Regions from separate parts of the Homo sapiens genome. Here all the other regions are linked to region 2. The links are contacts of gene promoters, found by promoter capture Hi-C in blood cells and fetal thymus (Javierre and others, 2016). All regions are on one chromosome and are shown on one strand. The core of a region is centred on a gene start or on the middle of the fragment in contact, and the rest is flanking DNA. Distances in the headings are between cores, read along the strand shown. Region 1 holds the start of UBAP2 (ubiquitin associated protein 2). Region 2 holds the start of MYORG (myogenesis regulating glycosidase). Region 3 overlaps DCAF12 (DDB1 and CUL4 associated factor 12).

The links. Contacts are between HindIII fragments. The CHiCAGO score rates a contact against its expected background, and 5 or more counts as called.
Region 1: the fragment with the promoter of UBAP2 here is called in contact with the fragment with the promoter of MYORG in region 2 in 2 of 17 cell types (neutrophils and M0 macrophages); the score reaches 5.9 in neutrophils.
Region 3: a contact is called between a fragment that was not itself captured here and the fragment with the promoter of MYORG in region 2, in 3 of 17 cell types (endothelial precursors, M0 macrophages and M2 macrophages). The highest score is 7.6, in endothelial precursors.

What each region holds. Positions count from the first base shown.
Region 1 is chr9:34,047,459-34,050,177 of GRCh38, reverse strand. It overlaps UBAP2 (ubiquitin associated protein 2), which reads left to right and starts at 1,291. Exons shown (of 29, transcript NM_001370062.2): 1 at 1,291-1,353. It also overlaps the pseudogene RN7SKP114. RefSeq lists enhancers at 1-468, 659-1,188, 469-1,324, 1,325-2,181 and silencers at 1,219-1,308, 1,459-1,508. The HindIII fragment of the contact is 37,851 bases long and covers 1-2,719 here.
Region 2 is chr9:34,375,353-34,378,233 of GRCh38, reverse strand. It overlaps MYORG (myogenesis regulating glycosidase), which reads left to right and starts at 1,336. Exons shown (of 2, transcript NM_020702.5): 1 at 1,336-1,441. RefSeq lists a silencer at 972-1,361 and enhancers at 1,407-1,987, 1,988-2,569. The HindIII fragment of the contact is 6,785 bases long and covers 1-2,880 here.
Region 3 is chr9:34,092,584-34,095,771 of GRCh38, reverse strand. It overlaps DCAF12 (DDB1 and CUL4 associated factor 12), which reads left to right. Exons shown (of 9, transcript NM_015397.4): 7 at 2,324-2,486. Among named protein-coding and RNA genes, the nearest start is that of DCAF12, 33 kb to the left of the region's middle. The HindIII fragment of the contact is 3,819 bases long and covers 1-3,188 here.

The sequences.
Region 1 (2,719 bases), core at 42-2,541, 330 kb after region 2:
GCTTGTTAACACGGGCGTGCAGCTACTCCTATATCCTTGACTTGTCCTCTTCTATGGGGGATGCTCCTCCTTTTCGACCGAATATGCAGCTTCGGGAGGGACGCACATGGAGAGGTGCGGGAGGAAGGGGCCACCCGCCTAGACAGCCAGATCAGCCGAATCAGCCCTGGCGATCTATGGGGTGACAAGATAGCCAGAACGCCCTCACATCCAAACAGGCCAGTAAATGGAAAATACTTTAAAACACCATGCTACAATTATAAACCATCATCTTATTTATTCGTAATTCTTGGAGTTGACAACAGGTCAGATCCTATTGAGAGGAGGTCATTAATTTTCTAAAGACAGAAAACCTGGGTCTCTTCGGTCAACAAACAACTCTAAGGTTCTTTTTTTAAATCCTTAAATAGGGAAAATCCTGGACTCAAGGAGTTGATTATATGATATAACAGAAATAAACGGCTGACTTGGAGTAGGCGTTCAGTAGATTCTAGTCTTTTCACCCAGAAGGGGCTTGGGAGGGCAAAAGTAAAACCGCACTGAAAAAGACTAAAAGTGGGCGCACCTTCCGCCTTGCCGAGGCTCTCGCTGCTAGCCGTTGGCGTTTTCCCGCGCAGGGGGCAGGGCGCAGAGCGAGCCCAGGAACGTGGGAGCGGAACCCCACCCCCCGCCAGGACTACACCTCCCAGCAGGCACCACGCTCCGCCACATGGCGGGCGGCATCCAATGGTATTAGTCCTTCAAGCCAGCTTAGTCCGCTTTCCGTCCCGGCCTTCCCTCGGCTCTAAGGTCTCTAGGGGGTTCGTCTAGAAGCCCGCTGGAGAAAGGCTGCGGTAGGGGTCGCCTTGGCTGTGCAGCATGTTGGGAGTCGTGGTCCCCTCGTGCAACATTTGGGAGGCCAGGCTTGCCCTGAGTGGTTGGACCACATCACGTGATGAGCACAGGGCGGCCACAGGGGAGTAACCTGTGGTGCTTTGTGAGGTCATCACGGCGCGACGACGAGCTGCAGTTGTGGGCACCTTGTATGCGGTGGGTAATACTCTCCTGATGACTCCGAGTACAATACATATTATCAAGTCTCCCTTATTTGTTCCTTTCTGTGGTCCCCACCTCCACGCGGTTGGCTTCGCGGGGTTGGGGTGGAGGTGGTGGCTGGAAGAGGCCGCGCGCCGCCTAGGCTGACTCTGAAGCCGCGCACGAGCGACGTGTTGTGGCTCCTCCTTCGCCCGTGACGCGAGGTCACGTGACGGGTTGGGCAGCCTGTGCCGCCGCCGCCGCTTTGTAAGAGGCACATTGGCAGGTAACGAGCGGCGGCGGCGGCAGCGGGTCTTGGGTCCTCCGAGAGCAGCAGCGGTAATTGCCATCCTCTCCCTCTCCTTCCCTCTTCCAGGGCCCTGAGCGCTGCAGCGTGTGCTTTCTAATTCTGGGTTCAGCTCGTCTGAAACCCCACCGCCTGCAGACTGCCCCGGCGCCCACCCGTGAGGACCGGGCCGAGCTTCACTCGCCAGGTCCACGGTCCCTCTACGTCCAGGCCCGGGCTCCCTCCTTCCTCTTCCCCTCACGTTGCCCTGTGCTTCTTCCTACTTTCCCCCGTCCAGGTCGGCTGGGCCCCACCCAGCCCCAGGGGTGCCTCCCCTCCCCCCTTTCGGGTTTCTGCCCTGGAGGGTGTGGTTTTCTCTCCCACCTCGGTGCCTGCCAGTAGACTGGAGCTTCCCCGCCACGCTGTCGGTCCCATCTCATCACCTTTCCGCTTTCACGCCCGTAGCTAGTCTTGGGACTGGCCCTGTTATAGCCCCAACTTATGCGCTCTCTAACCTTTCCTGGCTTACCCGGAGTCACAGTTCAGTTCTACTTCTTTTCAATTCTGTAGGGCATTGGTCTCAATTGGGACTCAGTTTTCCTCCACACCCGCCGTTCCTGTAGTCTGGTTATATCACAGTTCATTATTTAATGTAGGTTTTTGAGCGCTTTGTAAACGGCAAAGCTCTCTCTGTTAATAATACATACTCAAAATGTTATTCTTTCATTGGTGCATTACAACTCAGTTGTTTGCCTCTGAATCACTTTCCCACTCGGCTTTTCCACATTTTCCCCTGAGTTTTTAGTCTAATTAGTTGCCCACGCATCTCAACTGTCACCACTCTGGTCTCTAATGCTTGCTCGCTTTAGGGGTTGATCCCATCATTATTACTGTTATTTCCTGTTTGATGTAATCCAGTCATTTACTACCACTTCTATTGGATATTGTTTTTACCTCACATTCAAGGAAGGTATATGGTTTGCCAGTATTTAGGCTTATTGTCTTTCTACAGCACCAGTGTATCCTAACAGTTGAGAGATTTTAAAAAATTACTATTAATTTTAGAGATATGGTCTCCATATGTTGCCCAGGCTGGCCTCCAGCTCCTGGGTTTAAGCGATTCTTTCACCTCAGCCTCCTGAGTATCTGGGATTACAGTGTGCACCACGGTGCTCAGCTAGTTGAGGGTTTTTTCAGGTCTCCATAAGGTATCCAAAGATTATCTTTTATTTGAAGGGCATATAATTTCTTGGGTGAACCCAGTTCTTATATTCCTCTTCCGTTGTGACAGCACTTTTTTCAACAAGGGGTATGCGACTAGTTATTGCATTCCTCACTTTTCACTGTGAATTGTGTATCCGTTTTAGTGCCAGTTTGTGAAAGGTGGAAGGAAGTTGAACATGATACCTAAGCTCTCCC
Region 2 (2,881 bases), core at 87-2,586:
TAGCAGGGTATGGTGGCACACACATGTGGTCCAAGTTACTCAGGAGCCTGAGGCGGGAGGGGATAGCTTGAACCAAGGACATTGAGGCTGCAGTGAGCTATGTTAACGCCACTGCACTCCAGCCTGGGCGACAGAGCGAGACCCTCTCTCAAAAAAATAAAGACCGGACGCGGTGGCCCACACTTGTAATCCCAGCACTTTGGGAGGCCGAGGCAGGTAGATCACCTGAGGTCAGGAGTTTGAGACCAGCCTGACCAACATGGTGAAACTCTGTCTCTACTAAAAATACAAAATTAGCCAGGCGCGGTGGTGCGTGCCTGTAATCCCAGCTACTTGGGAGGCTGAGGCAGGAGAATTGCTTGAACCCGGGAGGCGGAGTTTGCAGTGAGCTGAGATCGTGCCATTGTACTCCAGCCTGGGCAACAAGAACGAAACTCAAAAATAAATAAATATAAAAATAAAATAAAATAAAAAAGAAATGAAACCTCAGAGTCTTGCCCAGCCCCCGGGGAGAGGGGCATGGCGGGGCACACCCACTTTCCCGCAGCTTGGGCATTTCTAACTAAAGGCTGTAACTTAGGAGGAGGGGCTGGACCCTATAAATAACTAGTCTGGGGGTAGCGGTCTGGGAGGCGGGTGACGTTGCAAAACACCGAGCAGAAACCGGTCTTCTCAGTCCCTGACCTCGGACACCGCTGGTTTGGTCCGGTGGGAACCGACAGCTTGGACTCGCGGCGGGTTGGAACTACAGCTCCCTCCGTGGGGCCCTCGATTGGAAGCACCTGCATTGGGAGCTGAGATACTCGCGGAATTCCGCCACCACTTTTCCGTATGGAAAGCTGAGGGCTTGTGAGAGCGTTATACCGATATGGCCTCCACCTGTCCAAACCGGGAAGGAAGGAATTCCAATGGCCAGCTCTGCTCCTTTACCCTGCAGCTCTCTCCCTCTCATCCTCATTCCAAACCTAGCCTAGAGGTGCAAGAACCCCAACCTTCCGCAGCTGCTCCTTTCTGCAGAACTACATGTCCCAGCAGGCCTGGGGCCGAGCCCCGCCCGCTTGCGGGTTAGCAGTGGCCCAGGAGGGGCGGGCCCGCCGGCGGGAGTCGGAGCCGCGGGGCGCAGGACTGAGCAAGCCTGAAATGCCAGGGGCAGAGCACAGAGCGGTGGGAGGAAGGTGGGGCTGAGGGGCGGGGCCACAGATCCGCCTGATAACCTGGGAGGAGGGGTCGAACGTCAAGGGCAGGGCTGGACTCTGAGGCCCGAGACGAGACTGGATGACTGGGGCGTGGCCGAGGAACCCCAGGGCGGGACCCGAGGAGGGGCTGTGCCCTGCCAGACAGAGCCCCGCGCGGCGCGGCGGCAGCTTCACTCTGGTTCAAGCGCAGGGGATCGGCGGGAAGCTCTTTCACCCCCGCTTCTGCCGGGCTGTAACTGCAATGGGTGAGCCCAGCGGGAGGGCTGTGGGGGGCGGGGGGCTGCTGAAGGAGCACGATTCCTGAACTTTCGCTCCCACCGATGAATGGGTGGAGCGAGCCTGAACACCTGGGCCCATCCCACGGCCGCGATTCCCGCGGGGCGACAGGTCCCTTGACCTCGGTCGGCCCCTTCGGACAGTATAGCCTTCAGGGCGGGGTAGGGAGGGCGGCTGTGGAGTATTCCAGGCTATGTAGGCAGTCACTCGATCCCCGCGGATACCGTCGCCTGGCAGGAGAGGGAGATGGGCCGGATCGAGTTGCCTTTGACATTTCCATCCCCCCGGGAACTGTGTCCAACTAACGATTCTACTTGGAATGGCCTCCCCTCAGTTGAGTCGGGCGGGGCCCTCCCCCTCAGACCAGACTAGCTGTGGCAGCCAAGGCTGAGGTTGAGTGTCCGGTGGGGAGAGGCTCAGCAGGGGCAGAGCCCAGACTCCACCTGGCGGAGGCGGCAGATTACAGAGGTCTCTGGCACCACTGTTAACACCGGAACCACAGACTTCCTCCCCCAAAGCCCCGGTACCAGATGCCATTAAAATTGCCCTCTTTGCTGCCCTCGTGGTCTTCGTGGTCCGCGTGGAGCAAGCAGCAGCACCAGCCCTTGGAAAGACAGGCCTCACCATGCCATGTCCATCTGATGGAAGCTGGTCCCACCAGCTCAGCCCCAGGGCTCCTTTCTGCTACTGCATTCAGGCAGCCAGGTCAGATCATTATCTCCCATCTCCTAAAACTTACACTGTGGAGAGCTGGGCTGGGATTTTAGATCCAGGCAGCCTTGATACCTGGCTAACTTCAGACAAGTTCCTTTTTCTGTTTGGGCCACGTTTCCTCACCTGTAAAATGGACACTGCAGCTATGTCTGCTGTTCCACATTGTTGATAGAACTGGATGCTGTGGTGACATTTGGGACACTATCATGGTGCCTGGGGTGGGTGGGTGCCCAGGCCTGTGGGCTTCTGTCTTTCATCAAAGAACTTCAGATCCCAGAAAATTAAGATTCTCAAAACATAACTGTCGGAAAGGGCTTTTGAATCCACCTTGGTGGCCTCTTCCTGCCTCCAGGGCTCATGAGATAGGCTGACTTCATATGAAAGTTTTGAGGATGAGGAAGTCTCTCTCCTCTTCAGATACTGACCCTCTCTCTCCTTATTTCCTTGGTGCCCAGAATAGGGCTTTGGTTATCTTGAATGAATGAATATAAACTCACAGGTGTGATCTGAGCCACCTAAAGCCTTCTTTGGGTTCTGCTCAGCTTGAGGGCATCACCTAAAGGCCACTGGCTGCATTTTCCAGGAGGTGTTTTCTAAGCTGTATCTATATAGGAATGGGGAGGAAAGCTAAGTCATTGTAGACTGAGAGAAAGGGAATAAGAGTCTGTTCCAGACCAGCTAGGGCTGACAAGCTT
Region 3 (3,188 bases), core at 502-3,001, 280 kb after region 2:
AAATAATCATGTAAGGTAATGAGAAAATAGACTTAATTTACAATACAAATTGGTCATCCCTAATCCAGAATGCTCCAAAATCCAGTTGGGCACAATACCTTAGGCCTGTAATCCCAACACTTTGGGAGGTTGAAGCAGGAGGATTGCTTGAGCCCAGGAGTTCAAAACTAGCCTGGGCAACACAGTAAGACCCTATCTCTGCAACAAAATTTAAAAATTAGCCATACATTGTGGCATATGCCTGTAGTCCCAGCTACTGGAGGGTAGCAGTGCTGAGGCAGGAGGACCACTTGAGCTGAGGAGGTCAAGGCTGCAGTGAGCCGTAATTTTGCCACTGCACTCCAGCCTGGGTGACAGAGCGAGACCCTATCTCAAAAAAAAAAAAAAAAAAAAAAAAAAGGCCTGGCGCGGTGGTTCACGCCTATAATCCCAGCACTTTGGGAGGCCGAGGCAGGTGGATCATGAGGTCAAGAGATTGAGACCATGCTGGCCAACATGGCGAAACCCCGTCTCTACTAAAAATACAAAAATTAGCTGGGCGTGGTGGTGGGCGTCTGTAGTCCCAGATACTTGGGAGGCTGAGGCAGGAGAATCGCTTGAACCCAGGAGGCAGAGGTTGCAGTGAGCCGAGATCATGCCACTGCACTCCAGCCTGGCAACAGAGCAAGACTCTCTCTCAAAAAAAAAAGCCTCCAAAGTCCAAAACTTTTTGAGCACCAACACAATGCCACAAATGGAAAATTTCACATGGGACACCTTTGCTTTCTGACAGGTCAGTGTACCAAACATTGTTTAATGCAGAAAATTATTTAAAATATTGCATAAAATTACCTTCACTCTATGTGTATAAGATGTATATGAAACATAAATGAATTTTGTGGTTAGACTTGGGTGCCATCCCCAAGATAGCTCCTTACATATATGTAGATATTTAAAAATCGGGGCCGGGTGCGGTGGCTCACGCCTATAATCCCAGCACTTTGGGAGGCCAAGGTGGGCGGATCGCAAGGTCAGGAGATTGAGACCATCCTGGCTAACATGGTGAAACCCCGTCTCTACTAAAAATACAAAAAATTAGCCGGGCGTGGTGGTGGGCGCTTGTAGTCCCAGCTACCCGGGAAGCTGAGGCAGGAGAATGGTGTGAACCCAGGAGGTGGAGCTTGCAGTGAGCTGAGATCGCGCCACTGTACTCCAGCCTGGGCGACAGTGCGAGACTCCGTCTCAAAAAAAAAAAAAAAAAGCTGGAGAAATCCGAAATTCAAAACATTTGTAGTCACAAGCCTTTTGGATAAGGGAGATTCAACAAGCAACTTTTACATAGAGTTAAACCTACCTGTGAATCATTTGTCTTTTTTTTATTTTTTTTGAGACAGAGTCTCACTTTGTTGCCCAGGCTAGAATGCAGTGGCACGATCTCAGCTCACTGCAACCTCCGCCTCCCAGGTTCAAGTGATTCTCCTTCCTCAGCCTCCTGAGTAGCTGGGATTACAGGCATGCACCACTACCCCTAGCTAATTTTTGGTATTTTTAGTAGAGATGGCATCTCACCAGGTTGGCCAGCCTGGTCTCAAACTCCTGACCTCAGGTGATCTGCCTGCCTTAGCCTCCCAAAGTGCTGGGATTACAGACGTTAGCCACCACGCCCAGCTTTTTCTCTTCTTCTTATCCTTGAGGACTTTGCAAGAGGAAGCAGGGTTCCAGGAATTAGTGATTCCTTCATGTCACAATAGCCTTTGAGCTCCACTGACCTTGTATGCTGTCTTATGTGTTGTATGCACCCACTGAGGATTTGCTAACTGACGAAGACCCAGGGTTAAGGCTGATGTGGGTTATCTGGGATTAAGCTAGTCCCATGGGCGTGCTTTCTATAGCGTACAATTCCCATTCAGGTGGGAAGGTGAGCTGGGGGTAGCCAGAGATCAGCCTCTTTATCTGAAAAGCACTGAGGTGGCCCTTCCTGGCAGACAGAACAGAGTGGGACTATGGCTTTAGTGCCCTGGAACGATTCCCAGAAACAACCTGAATAGTTGAAACAGCCTACCAAGAAAGGCCTTGGCCTTTCCAGCTACTTCTGATTATTTATTCCAGATTTACCTTTTCCCCAACCTATCTCCTTCAGTATCTAGGTCTTACCGTTTATTAACATTCACCTCCTCTTTCTCCTGTATACCTAGGGGTGGAACAGAGTGTTATTTCTGTAATCAGGGCTTGATTTTATGTGGCTTTTATATGAGGGAAGCCCATCAAGGTGGGAGTCCAGAAACAATATCCCTGCCTTACCCTCTCTGCTGATGCCATGGTTATATCTCTCCTCTATTTTCAGCTCCTCTCCACCAAACTGCCATATTGCCGTGAGAATGTGTGTCTGGCTTATGGTAGTGAATGGTCAGTTTATGCAGTGGGCTCCCAAGCTCATGTCTCCTTCTTGGATCCACGGCAGCCATCATACAACGTCAAGTCTGTCTGTTCCAGGGAGCGAGGCAGTGGTAAGAGTCCCTGTGTGCACCTCAGGCCTACAGCTGCACTGCATATGGGTTCTGACTTTCAGTTTCTTTGTTGGTTTCCAAACAGGTATAGTGCTCTGTATGGAACATTTGGAAGTGTGTTCAAAAAGGGGAGCGATGGCTAGGCGTGGTGGCTTACGCCTGTAATCCCAGCACTTTGGGAGGCCGAGGCGGGTGGATCACCTGAGGTCGGGAGTTTGAGATCAGCCTGACCAATAAATATGGAGAAACCCCGTCTCTACTAAAAATACAAAATTAGCCGGGCGCAGTGGCGCATGCCTGTAATCCCAGCTGCTCAGGAGGCTGAGGCAGGAGAATTGCTTGAACCTGGGAGGCGGAGGTTGCGGTGAGCTGAGATCGCACCATTGCACTCCAGCCTGGGCAATGAGCGCGAAATTCTGTCTCAAAAAAAAAGGGGTGTGGGGGGAGTGACACAAAAGGGCACTAGACTTTCAAACACCACAGACAAATGTGTGGCCACAGAAGCCTTTGTTGGGAGCCACCAGTCAGGATATTAGTTAGTAGTTTCCATGTTCTTTTAGAAAGCTCTACTTTTTTTTTGTTGTTGTTGTTTTTTTTTTTTGAGACAGAGTCTCGCTCTTTTGCCAGGCTGGAGTGTAGTGGCGTGATCTCAGCTCACTGCAACCTCTGCCTTCTGAGTTCAAGTGATTCTCCTGCCTCAGC